Regions from separate parts of the Homo sapiens genome. Here region 1 is linked to region 2. Evidence: promoter capture Hi-C in human tissues and cell types (Jung and others, 2019). All regions are on one chromosome and are shown on one strand. Each heading gives the region's core, a stretch centred on a gene start or on the middle of the fragment in contact. The rest is flanking DNA. Distances are from core to core; before and after follow the strand shown.

Evidence for each region. The method cuts DNA at HindIII sites, captures the fragments that hold promoters and counts their contacts. A contact is called where the count stands out against the background at its distance.
Region 1: a contact is called between a fragment that was not itself captured here and the fragment with the promoter of NPY in region 2, in 1 of the 25 tissues and cell types used here (H1 embryonic stem cells).

What each region holds. Positions count from the first base shown.
Region 1 is chr7:23,856,334-23,861,309 of GRCh38, reverse strand. No RefSeq gene overlaps it. Among named protein-coding and RNA genes, the nearest start is that of STK31, 150 kb to the right of the region's middle. The HindIII fragment of the contact is 3,274 bases long and covers 562-3,835 here.
Region 2 is chr7:24,281,203-24,286,147 of GRCh38, reverse strand. NPY (neuropeptide Y) reads right to left here and starts at 1,958. Exons shown (of 4, transcript NM_000905.4): 1 at 1,873-1,958; 2 at 720-907. The coding sequence starts at 907. The region is part of intron 2 of LOC107986777 (a long non-coding RNA gene); the gene reads left to right. The HindIII fragment of the contact is 14,633 bases long and covers 1-4,945 here.

The DNA.
Region 1 (4,976 bases), core at 949-3,448, 430 kb after region 2:
GGTCCTAACAAGTTGGTTGACCCTGCGGCCAAGAGCAGAACTCTCAAAGTCATGTCGCCCAAGTGAGACTCGACCATCTAACCTATCTATGCTGACCCTTGCCTCCTGGGTCCTAATGCCTCTCAGACAAACTTCCTCTCACCTCTCTTCTCCAAGGCTAGTCCTGCTTCTAAAAACCACTCCCTGTCTCTTGTGCTTTTCTAGTTTCTCCTGTAAGAATGATTTCCAGTATAAACCTCAGGACTCTGTTCCCTTCTTTAGGCACCCAGGCTCACCAATCAGAAAGGCATAATTTTTGCCCAAAGCCCCATTATAGGGGGGACTATCTGGAATTTTAGGATCCCTCCTCAGACTAGCAGGCCTAACAAAAGCTATTCTTGAAGCTAGGATGTGGGGAGCTTCAGAAATGGTATCTTTCCTATTCACATAAGTGAGAACAAAAGGTATCACTCTTTCAACCCTGGAGATCCCTTCCCTCCCTCTGGGTATGACCCTCCACTTCATTTTTTGGAAATAACATCTTTATAGGTCAGTGGTAAGGTCCCAATACTAACAGGAAAATGCTTAGGACTCTAACAGGTTTTTGAGAATGTGTCAGTAAGGGCCACTAAATCCAACCTTCCTTGGGCCTCCTTGGGGTCTAGGAGGAAAAACTAGTGTTTCTGCTGCTGTGTCGGTGAGTGCAACTATTCTGATCAGCAGGGTCCAGGGACCATTGCAGGTTCTTAGGCAAGAGGTGTTTCTGCTGCTGCATCGGTGAGCACAACTATTCCAATCAGCAGGGTCCAGGGGCTGCACCATTGTGGGTTATTGGGCAAGAGGTGTTTCTGCTGCTTCATTGGTGAGTGCAACTATTCTGATCAGCAGGGTCCAGGGACCATTGCGGGTTCTTAGGCAGGGGGAGAAACAAACAAACCAAAACCGTGGGCAGTTTTGTCTTTCAGATGGGAAACACTCAGGCATCAACAGCTCACCCTTGAAATGCATCCTAAGCCATTGGGACCAATTTGACCTGCAAATCCTGAAAAAGAGGCAGCTCATTTTTTTCTGCACTATGGCTTGGCCCCAGTATTCTCTCTGATGGGGAAAAATGGCCACCTGAGGGAAGTATAAATTACAACACTATCCTGCAGTCTGACGTTTTCTGTAAGAGGGAAGGCAAATGGAGTGAAATACCTTATGTCCAAGCTTTCTTTTCATTGAAGGAGAATCCACAACTATGCAAAGCTTGTAATTTACATCCACAGGAGGACCTCTCAGCTTACCCCCATATCCTAGCCTCCCTATAGCTCCCCTTCCTATTAATGATAAGCCTCCTCTAATCTCCCCTGCCCAGAAGGAAACAAGCAAAGAAATCTCCAAAGGACTAGAAAAACCCCTGGGCTATCAGTTATGTCCCCTTCAAGTTGTAGGAGGAGGGGAACTTGGCCCAACCCAGGTACATGTCCCCTTCTCCCGCTCTAATTTAAAGCAGGCAGACCTAGGGCAGTTTTCAGATGATCCTGATAGGTACAGAGATGTGCTACAGGGTCTAGGGCAAACCTTCAATCTCATTTGGAGAGATGTCATGCTATTGTTAGATCAAACCCTGGCCTTTAATGAAAAGAATGCGGCTTTAGCTGCAGCCCAAAAGTTTGGAGATACCTGGTATCTTAGTCAAGTAAATGACAAAATGACAGCCGAAAAAAGGGAAAATTCCCTACCGGTCAGCAAGCCATCTCCATACTGGGACCTCAACTCAGATCATGAGGACTGGAGTCGTAAACATCTGTTGACCTGTGTTCTAGAAGGACTAAGGAGAATTGGGGAAAACCCATGAAATACTCAATGATGACTACCATAACTCAGGGAAAGCAAGAAAATCCTTCTGCCTTCCTCGAGCTGCTACAGGAGGCCTTAAGAAAATATACTCCCCTGTCACCCGACTCACTCGAGGGTCAGTTGATTCTAAAAGATAAGTTTATTACCCAATCAGCCGCAGACATCAGGAGAAAGCTCCAAAAGTGAGCCCTGGGCCCTGAACAAAATCTGGAGGCATTATTAAACCTGGCAACCTTGGTGTTCTATAATAGGGACTAAGAGGAATGGCCCAAAAGGAAAAGCGAGATCAGAGAAAGGCCACGGCCTTAGTCATGGCCCTCAGACAAACAAACCTTGGTGGTTCAGAGAGGACAGAAAATGGAGCAGGCCAATCACCCGGTATGGCTTATCAGTGTGGGTTACAAGGACACTATAAAAAAGATTGTCCAATGAGAAACAAGCCACACCCTTGTCCATGTCCGCTATGCCAAGGCAATCACTGGAAGGTGCACTGCCCCAGAGTGCAATGATTCTCTGGGCCAGAAGCCCCCAACCAGATGATCCAACAACAGGACTGAGGGTGCCCAGGGCAAGCACCAGCTCATGTCATCACCCTCACTGAGCCCCAGGTATGTTTAACCATTGAGGGCCAGGAAATTGACTTCCTCCTGGACACTGGCACGGCCTTCTCAGTGTTAATCTCCTATCCTGGACAACTCTCCTCAAGGTCTGTTACCATCCGAGGAATCCTGGGACAGCCTGTAACCAGGTATTTCTCCCACCTTCTCAGTTGTAATTGGGAGACTTTGCTCTTTTCACATGCCTTTCTTGTTATGCCTGAAAGTCCCACACCCTTATTAGGGAGGAATATATTAGCCAAAGCTGGAGCTATTATTACATGAATATAGGGAACAAGTTACCCATTTGTTGTCCCCTACTTGAGGAGGGAATCAACCCTAAAGTCTGGGCATTGGAAGGACAATTTGGAAGGGAAAAAATGCCCGCCCAGTCCAAATCAGGCTAAAAGATCCCACCACTTTTCTTTATCAAAGGAAATATCCCTTAAGGCCTGAAGCTCATAAAGGATTACAGAATATTGTTAAACATTTAAAAGCTCAAGGCTTAGTAAGGAAATGCGGCAGTCCCTGCAACACCCCAATTCTAGGAGTACAAAAACCGAACAGTCAGTGGAGACTAGTGTAGGATCTTAGACTCATCAATGAGGCAGTAATTCCTCTATATCCAATTGTACCCAACCCCTATACCTTTCTCTCTCAAATACCAGAGGAAGCAGAATGGTTCACTGTTCTGAACCTCAAGGATGCCTTCTTCTGTATTCCCCTGCACTCTGACTCCCAGTTTCTCTTTGCCTTTGAGGATCCCACAGACCACATGTCCCAACTTATGTGGACGGCTTGCCCCAAGGGTTTAGGGATAGCCCTCATCTGTTTGGTCAGGCACTAGCCCAAGATCTAGGCCACTTCTCAAGTCCAGGCACTCTGGTCCTTCAGTATGTGGATGATTTACTTTTGGCTACCAGTTCGGAAGCCTCATGCCAGCAGGCTACTCTAGCTCTCTTGAACTTTCTAGCTAATCAAGGGTACAAGCGTCTAGATCGAAGGCCCAGCTTTGCCTACAGCAGGTCAAATATCTATGCCTAATCTTAGCCAGAGGGACCAGGGCCCTCATCAAGGAATGAATACAGCCTATACTGGCTTATCCTCACCTTAAGACATTTAAACAGCTGCAGAGGTTCCTTGGAATCACCAGCTTTTGCTGACTATGGATCCCTGGATACAGCGAGATAGCCAGGCCTCTCTATACTCTAATCAAGAAGACCCAGAGGGCAAATACTCATCTAGTGGAATGGGAACCAGAGGCAGAAACAGCCTTCAAAACTTTAAAGCAGGCCCTAGTACAAGCTCCAGCTTTAAGCCTTCCCACAGGACAAAACTTCTCTTTATATGTCACAGAGAGAGCAGGGATAGCTCTTGGAGTCCTTTCTCAGACTCGCGGGACAACTCCACAACCAGTGACATAACCTAAGTAAGGAAACTGATGTAGTAGCAAAAGGCTGGCCTCACTGTTTACAGGTAGTTGCAGCTGTGGCCGTCTTAGTGTCAGAGGCTATCAAAATAATACAAGGAAAGGATCTCACTGTCTGGACTACTCACGATGTAAATGGCATACTAGGTGCCAAAGGAAGTTTATGGCTATCAGACAACCACCTGCTTAGATATCAGGCGCTATTCCTTGAGGGACTGGTGCTTCACATACACATATGTGCAGCCCTCAACCCTGCCACTTTTCTCCCAGAGGATGGGGAACCAATTGAGCATAACTGCCAACAAATTATAGTCCAGACTTATGCCACCCGAGATGATCTCTTAGAAGTCCCCTTAGCTAATCCTGACCTTAACCTATATACTGACGAAAATTCATTTGTAGAGAATGGGATACAATGGGCAGTTTATGCCATAGTTAGTGATGTAACCATACTTGAAAGTAAGCCCCTTCCCCCAGGGACCAGTGCCCAGTTAGCAGAACTAGTGGAACTTACCTGAGCCTTAGAACTGGGAAAGGGAAGAAGAATAAACGTGTATAGAGATAGCAAGTATGCTTATCTAATCCTACATGCCCATGCTGCAATATGGAAAGAAAGGGAGTTCCTAACCTCTGGGGGAACCCCCATTAAATACCACAAGGAAATCATGGAGTTATTGCATGTGGTGCAAAAACCCAAGGAGGAGGTGGCAGTCTCACACTGCTGAAGCCATCAAAAAGGGGAAGGAGAGGAGAAAACAGCAGCATAAGTGGCTGGCAGAGGCTGGGAAAGACCAGCAGAAAGGAAAGACAGAAAGAGACAGAAAGAGAGAAAGAGGAAGAGACAGAGACAAAGGAGGAAAAAAGAGAGAGGAAGAGACAGACAGACAGAAAGTCAAAGACAGAAGGAGAGAGAGAGAGGAAGAGACAAAGAGGGAGTCAGAGAGAGAGAAAGAGAGAGACAGAAAGTCAAAGACAGAGGAAGAGACAGACAAAGGGGAGTCAGAGAGAGATAAAGAAGTCAAAGAGAAACAAAGATGGAAGTAGTAAAGAAAAAACAGTGTACCGTATTCCTTTGACAGCCAGGGTAAACTTAAAACCTGTAATTCATAATTGAAGGTCTTCTCTGTGAC
Region 2 (4,945 bases), core at 709-3,208:
ACCAACGTAAGTTTCTTCTTAATGAAATACCAAGTGGGCACTTTCTTTTCAGAATTCACCAGCTATAAAATAGGGAGACCTCTGCATTTTAGATAAACTGTTTTCAGGCTAAATCTCTAATTATTGGGACTAGAATTTTCAAATATGGGAGTGAGACTGCAAAAAAAACACAGTGAAGAAGAAAAGAAAATAGCTCTATTTGTCTTTTTCTAAATACTGTCATTCAATTAGCCCTGGGCAGGCCGGAAAGTCTGACAATGTCTGTGGCAACCCTGCAGTTTACTCCTTGGTTTGGTTTTCTTTGGTGGTCGTTCTGTTTCTCCTAGACACCTTGCTAGCGTTTCCCCCTACAGCATTTCTCTGGCGCATTCTTGCCCCTTTCACTGGGTACTTTCGAGATTTCTGGACCGGGCCCCACTGCCGTAAGAACCACAACAAACCATAAGAGGTGAGTGAGAGGAGATTGCCAGCCTACCAGCCTGGGGAACCTGAATCTGGGGATCACGACTCTGTGACTGTAGTTGCACAAAATGGAAGGTACCCATTTTGTGTAGAGTGTGCCCTGTACAAACATTTACCTAGAGCTGACTAAGTGCCTGATACTGTCCTGCCCTGGGATAGAGCGAAGGAAAAGAAACAATCCCTTTCCCTAACATCCCCAGGATCTCCTGGTGTGCAGGCACTGGCGCTCCCGGAATCGGTCCCGCGGTCCCACCCACCTCTGCCTGGTGATGAGGTTGATGTAGTGTCGCAGCGCCGAGTAGTATCTGGCCATGTCCTCCGCTGGTGCGTCCTCGCCCGGGTTGTCCGGCTTGGAGGGGTACGCCTCGGCCAGCGCACCCAGGCACACGAGCAGGGACAGGGCGAGGGTCAGTCCGGACAGCCCCAGTCGCTTGTTACCTAGCATCTGCAGGCACAGAAGGCTCAACGGACGGGCTTGGGGATTCAGAGCACCCACGCGCAGCACCTCCCTCCTCTGCCCCCCGCGCTCCTCCTCCTGCTACCACACGCGACCCCCAATCCGCTCTCGTCCCAGTCCCGCAGAGAGAACCCAGGAGTGGCTAGCACCACCTTGCGGGCTCCGGGCGCCGTCCGGTCGGGACCTGCCCCTCTGCTCCACCTGAAAACTTCGCGCAACTTCGTTCGAAGTCTCAGGGACCAAGAAGCGCGCGGCGAGAGTGCAAGGTGGGGGCCCCGCCAGTTTAGCATTCAAAACCGAATTGGAAGTTCTTCCTGCTGGGTCACTTTTCTCCCTTCTTGCCCAAACTCTTGTCTGGGAAGAAAAGTTTCTTCTCTGTTACTTCTGGTCTGCCTAGCTTCAGGGGATCAACGCTGACAGCAGAGATCACCTCGGGGTGACGACTGCGGTGGGGAAGGGGAAAGAGAATTGCTCCCTGGGCCAGAATTGCTCCAAAGAGATTTGGAGCCCAAGAATCCAGGGAGGTGGCAGGGCGCGGGGCTCTAGAGCTCCAGGGATTCCTCACTCGATGGCGCTGCCGGGGAAACCTTCCTACCGCGCACCGCTTCCTGGGCCTCAAGGCGGCGACCCGCAGGGAGACCGCCAGCTGCCTTGGGATAGCGGTCCCGGGTTCTCCCTCCATATCTGCTAAAAGGTAACTCAGAAGAACCGCCCAGCGGGAAGGGCCCGGGAGAAGGGCCGTGGACAATCAGAGGGGAGCAGAGGAACAAGTGGAATTTAGCCGCCAAGAGGGCTGGTCCGCGTCGGGGCGCGGAGCCGGCATAGTCCGCTGGGGAGTGGAGCGCGATCATCCCAGGGCCCCAGGGCTCCACAGAGCGGGAGGCTGCGTCTCTAGCAAGTTCGCGGGCGCCCCGTTCGCTCCCACCCCTAGACAGACGGGTCGTAGCACTCACGGTGGCTGGCGCGCGGGCGTGGCTGGGCGGCAAGTACTATGCTGTCGGGCGAGCGTCTCCGAGGGGTGAGAGCCAGCGGATGGGGTGCAGAGAGCGGGTCGCGACAGGGCTTTTATGGAGCTTCCTCGCCGCGGCAGGAGGGGCCTCGGGCAGTCACGCTTGGGTGACTCCCACCCGCCACTTCCCGCCCCTGAGTGGCGGGGGGAGGGGGCTGGAACCGCAGCCGCACGAGTGTCGACTTAGGGAGCCACCCACACCCCAACCCTCCCGCCCCAGGCACTGCCTGAAGAAGCGGGGCCTGGGACCGCGTGAGCGAGGCAGCGCACTCCGAGCGCGCTGGACAACACCAAAGCCCAAGTATCTGCCCTCGGGCAGTGCCCGATCCCTGCTTTCCTTCTTTCCTTCTTTCCTTCACGCCCCGTCTAGTCCTGCCAGAGATAGGAGCAGCCCAGACGATTCTTGTCTCCTGCCAACAGGACTACCAACCCACTGGGTGCCGGAGTAGGAAGCACCTGAATCCTCTTTGTGGTGGGGCATCTCCACGACTAGCGCGGCATCCTCGCCGGGCACAACTGCGCGCTGTTGGAGTGAGGCAACTGGGCGCACAGATTTTTCCTGTACTTAGAACAAGTCGGAGGCAGCTGCCGGAAGTCTCCGGCTAGAGGGTCCCAAAGCTGCGCTCCCCACCCCACCCCCGCCCGTGGTTTCAGGGGCTTCTGCCCCTTCTCTCAGCTGGTTTTTCTAGATCAGCCTTCCTCAAGTACTCGCTCAGACGCAGCGAGCCAGGCTCGGTCGAGACATGAGTGTGGCGACTCAAAATTCCCCAGAGGGGGAACACGGTAAACCTATTCCCCCAGTTTGCTGAAAAAGAGCCACGCTTCCAGCTTCTAGAGACTCTTTTAAGCTCAATTTTAAAAATATATATTTTTTCTTTTTTGGTCCAAAGTGACGGTGGTTAAATGAACAACAGTTTCTGTCTTATTTACTAACCCTTGTATAGTCCTATGTACGTTCAATTAACGTTGAGAATGTGGGTTCTGATTAAGATGAAACATGTTAAAAACGATGAACATTAATTTGCTCATCGCGTTAAACCTGTTGAATGAATATGCAAGATACAGAAACTATTATTACAGGATCAAGATTTTATGCAGTGGACTGAGATCTGAAAGTTCCGTGAATGAATGCTCCTGTATCTTTCTAAATAAAATGGCATTTTATTTCTAAATGAAATATAAGTCTGAATCTTTCTAAATAAAAAGGCATGTTGGGAAATTAAAGCATTAAGTTCCATGTTATTTTAATGCTAAAAGGACAAGTGATTCTGTTAAACTGACACTTAGTTTTTGTGCTGTTCCAACAGCATTGAATTAAATATCAAAAACCGTGAAGCAAACAATCCTTTGCATGTATGTGTTTGTGTGTTTGTGGGATCAAACTATAATTTTGGAGACCAACATCCCTTTCACTTGGCAACTGCTTCTCTTTCTGTATTACACAAACATATGCTGAGGACACAAAAATCAAGGCTCTCAGAGTTGCTCGGGGGTGCTTACAAGACACAGCCTTCGGTAAAAGTGCAAAACATCTTCTAACTTAGAGCTCTTCCTAGATAAAGGGAAAGTTACAGTCCACTTTTCAATAAAATAATCTTATTTTAGAGTGTATCACAGATTCATATCAATTAAAATCTGAACTTAAAATGTATCACTGAATTTGGGAAAAATTACTTCTAGGAAGGCCCACACCACTATTGAGAGAAGAACACTGTGGAGGCTTGATTAATTTAGCTTAAGATAATGTCATTGATTCTCAAGAATAAGAACTTATTCTGAGGGTTAAGGATTCAGAGAATAAAAAATAGGGGGTGATATGCCCTACATGTGCTTACATCCTTATCTCCTTTCTCTCCAGTCCAAGCCACATCCCCTGGCCAAAATACAAACAAAACCAACTGTTGGCAACTCAACCCTGCATCTTCTCCTAGCTGCTGAGCCATTTCTCTCCTTTGTTTCAAAGTCAAGTTGTTTATTTCTAACAGCTTTGTTAAGATAACATTGAGATACTGTTGAGCTTGTTGAGATTCAAAAGGAGGTGAATCAGTGGAGACTAGAGAAGGTAATGACCGAGAGAAGTCAAATAACCGGTAAAGGTCCATGTGGTTTGCAATTAGGAGGTCTTACTGATAGCAGGTTCATAGCTTGATTCAGATAGAACCTGGACCACATGAAACCCAGTGGTTTCATGACTAAACCTAAGGTAAAGAAGCAGAAGGAATGAATAGATACTGCTGAATATATACAAAGCTACAAATGTGTAAAATATTCAATTGGATATATTCTTACACATATGCATGTGTGTTATATGCTCAGGAAGCCATCACTGAAACCAAGAAAATGAAGATTATACATCACTTCCCCAAATTTCCACATGTACCTTTGTAATTCCTTCCTTTTGCCTCTTCCTCACCCCCTCCTCCATTGATCTGCTATCACTAGAGATTTGTTTGCGTTTTCTAGAATTGCACATAAATATAGTTCCACGGTAGGTACTCTTTGTCTGACTTCTTTCACTTAGCATCATTATTTTTGAATCCACTCACATTGTTAAATGTAGCAATAGTTTATTCTTTTTTATTGCTGGGCAGTATTTCATTATATGATATACTTCAAAATTTTTAATCAATTCTACTGCTCATGAATTTTTGGTTATTTTCACTTGAAACTTTTACGAATAAAGCTGCCTTGACATTCATATGCAAGTCTTTGTATGGACATAAAGCCTTTAATTCTCTTGGAAAATACTTAAAACCAGAATGGCTGAGTCAGACGGTGAGTGTATATTGGCCCACAGTTTGTTGGTGATCTGTTTTTGCTTCTGTTTTGCTCATTTTTTCCTTCATATTTTATTTTGGATAGTCTCTATTGCTATGTCTGTGAGTTCACTAATGTTTTCTTCTGTAATATCTGATTACTGCCAATCCTATCCAGTGTATTTTGCACCTTATACCTGGTAGCTTTCATCTCTAGAGTTTCAACTTGAATCTTTTTTTTAAGTTACAGGACAATATAAA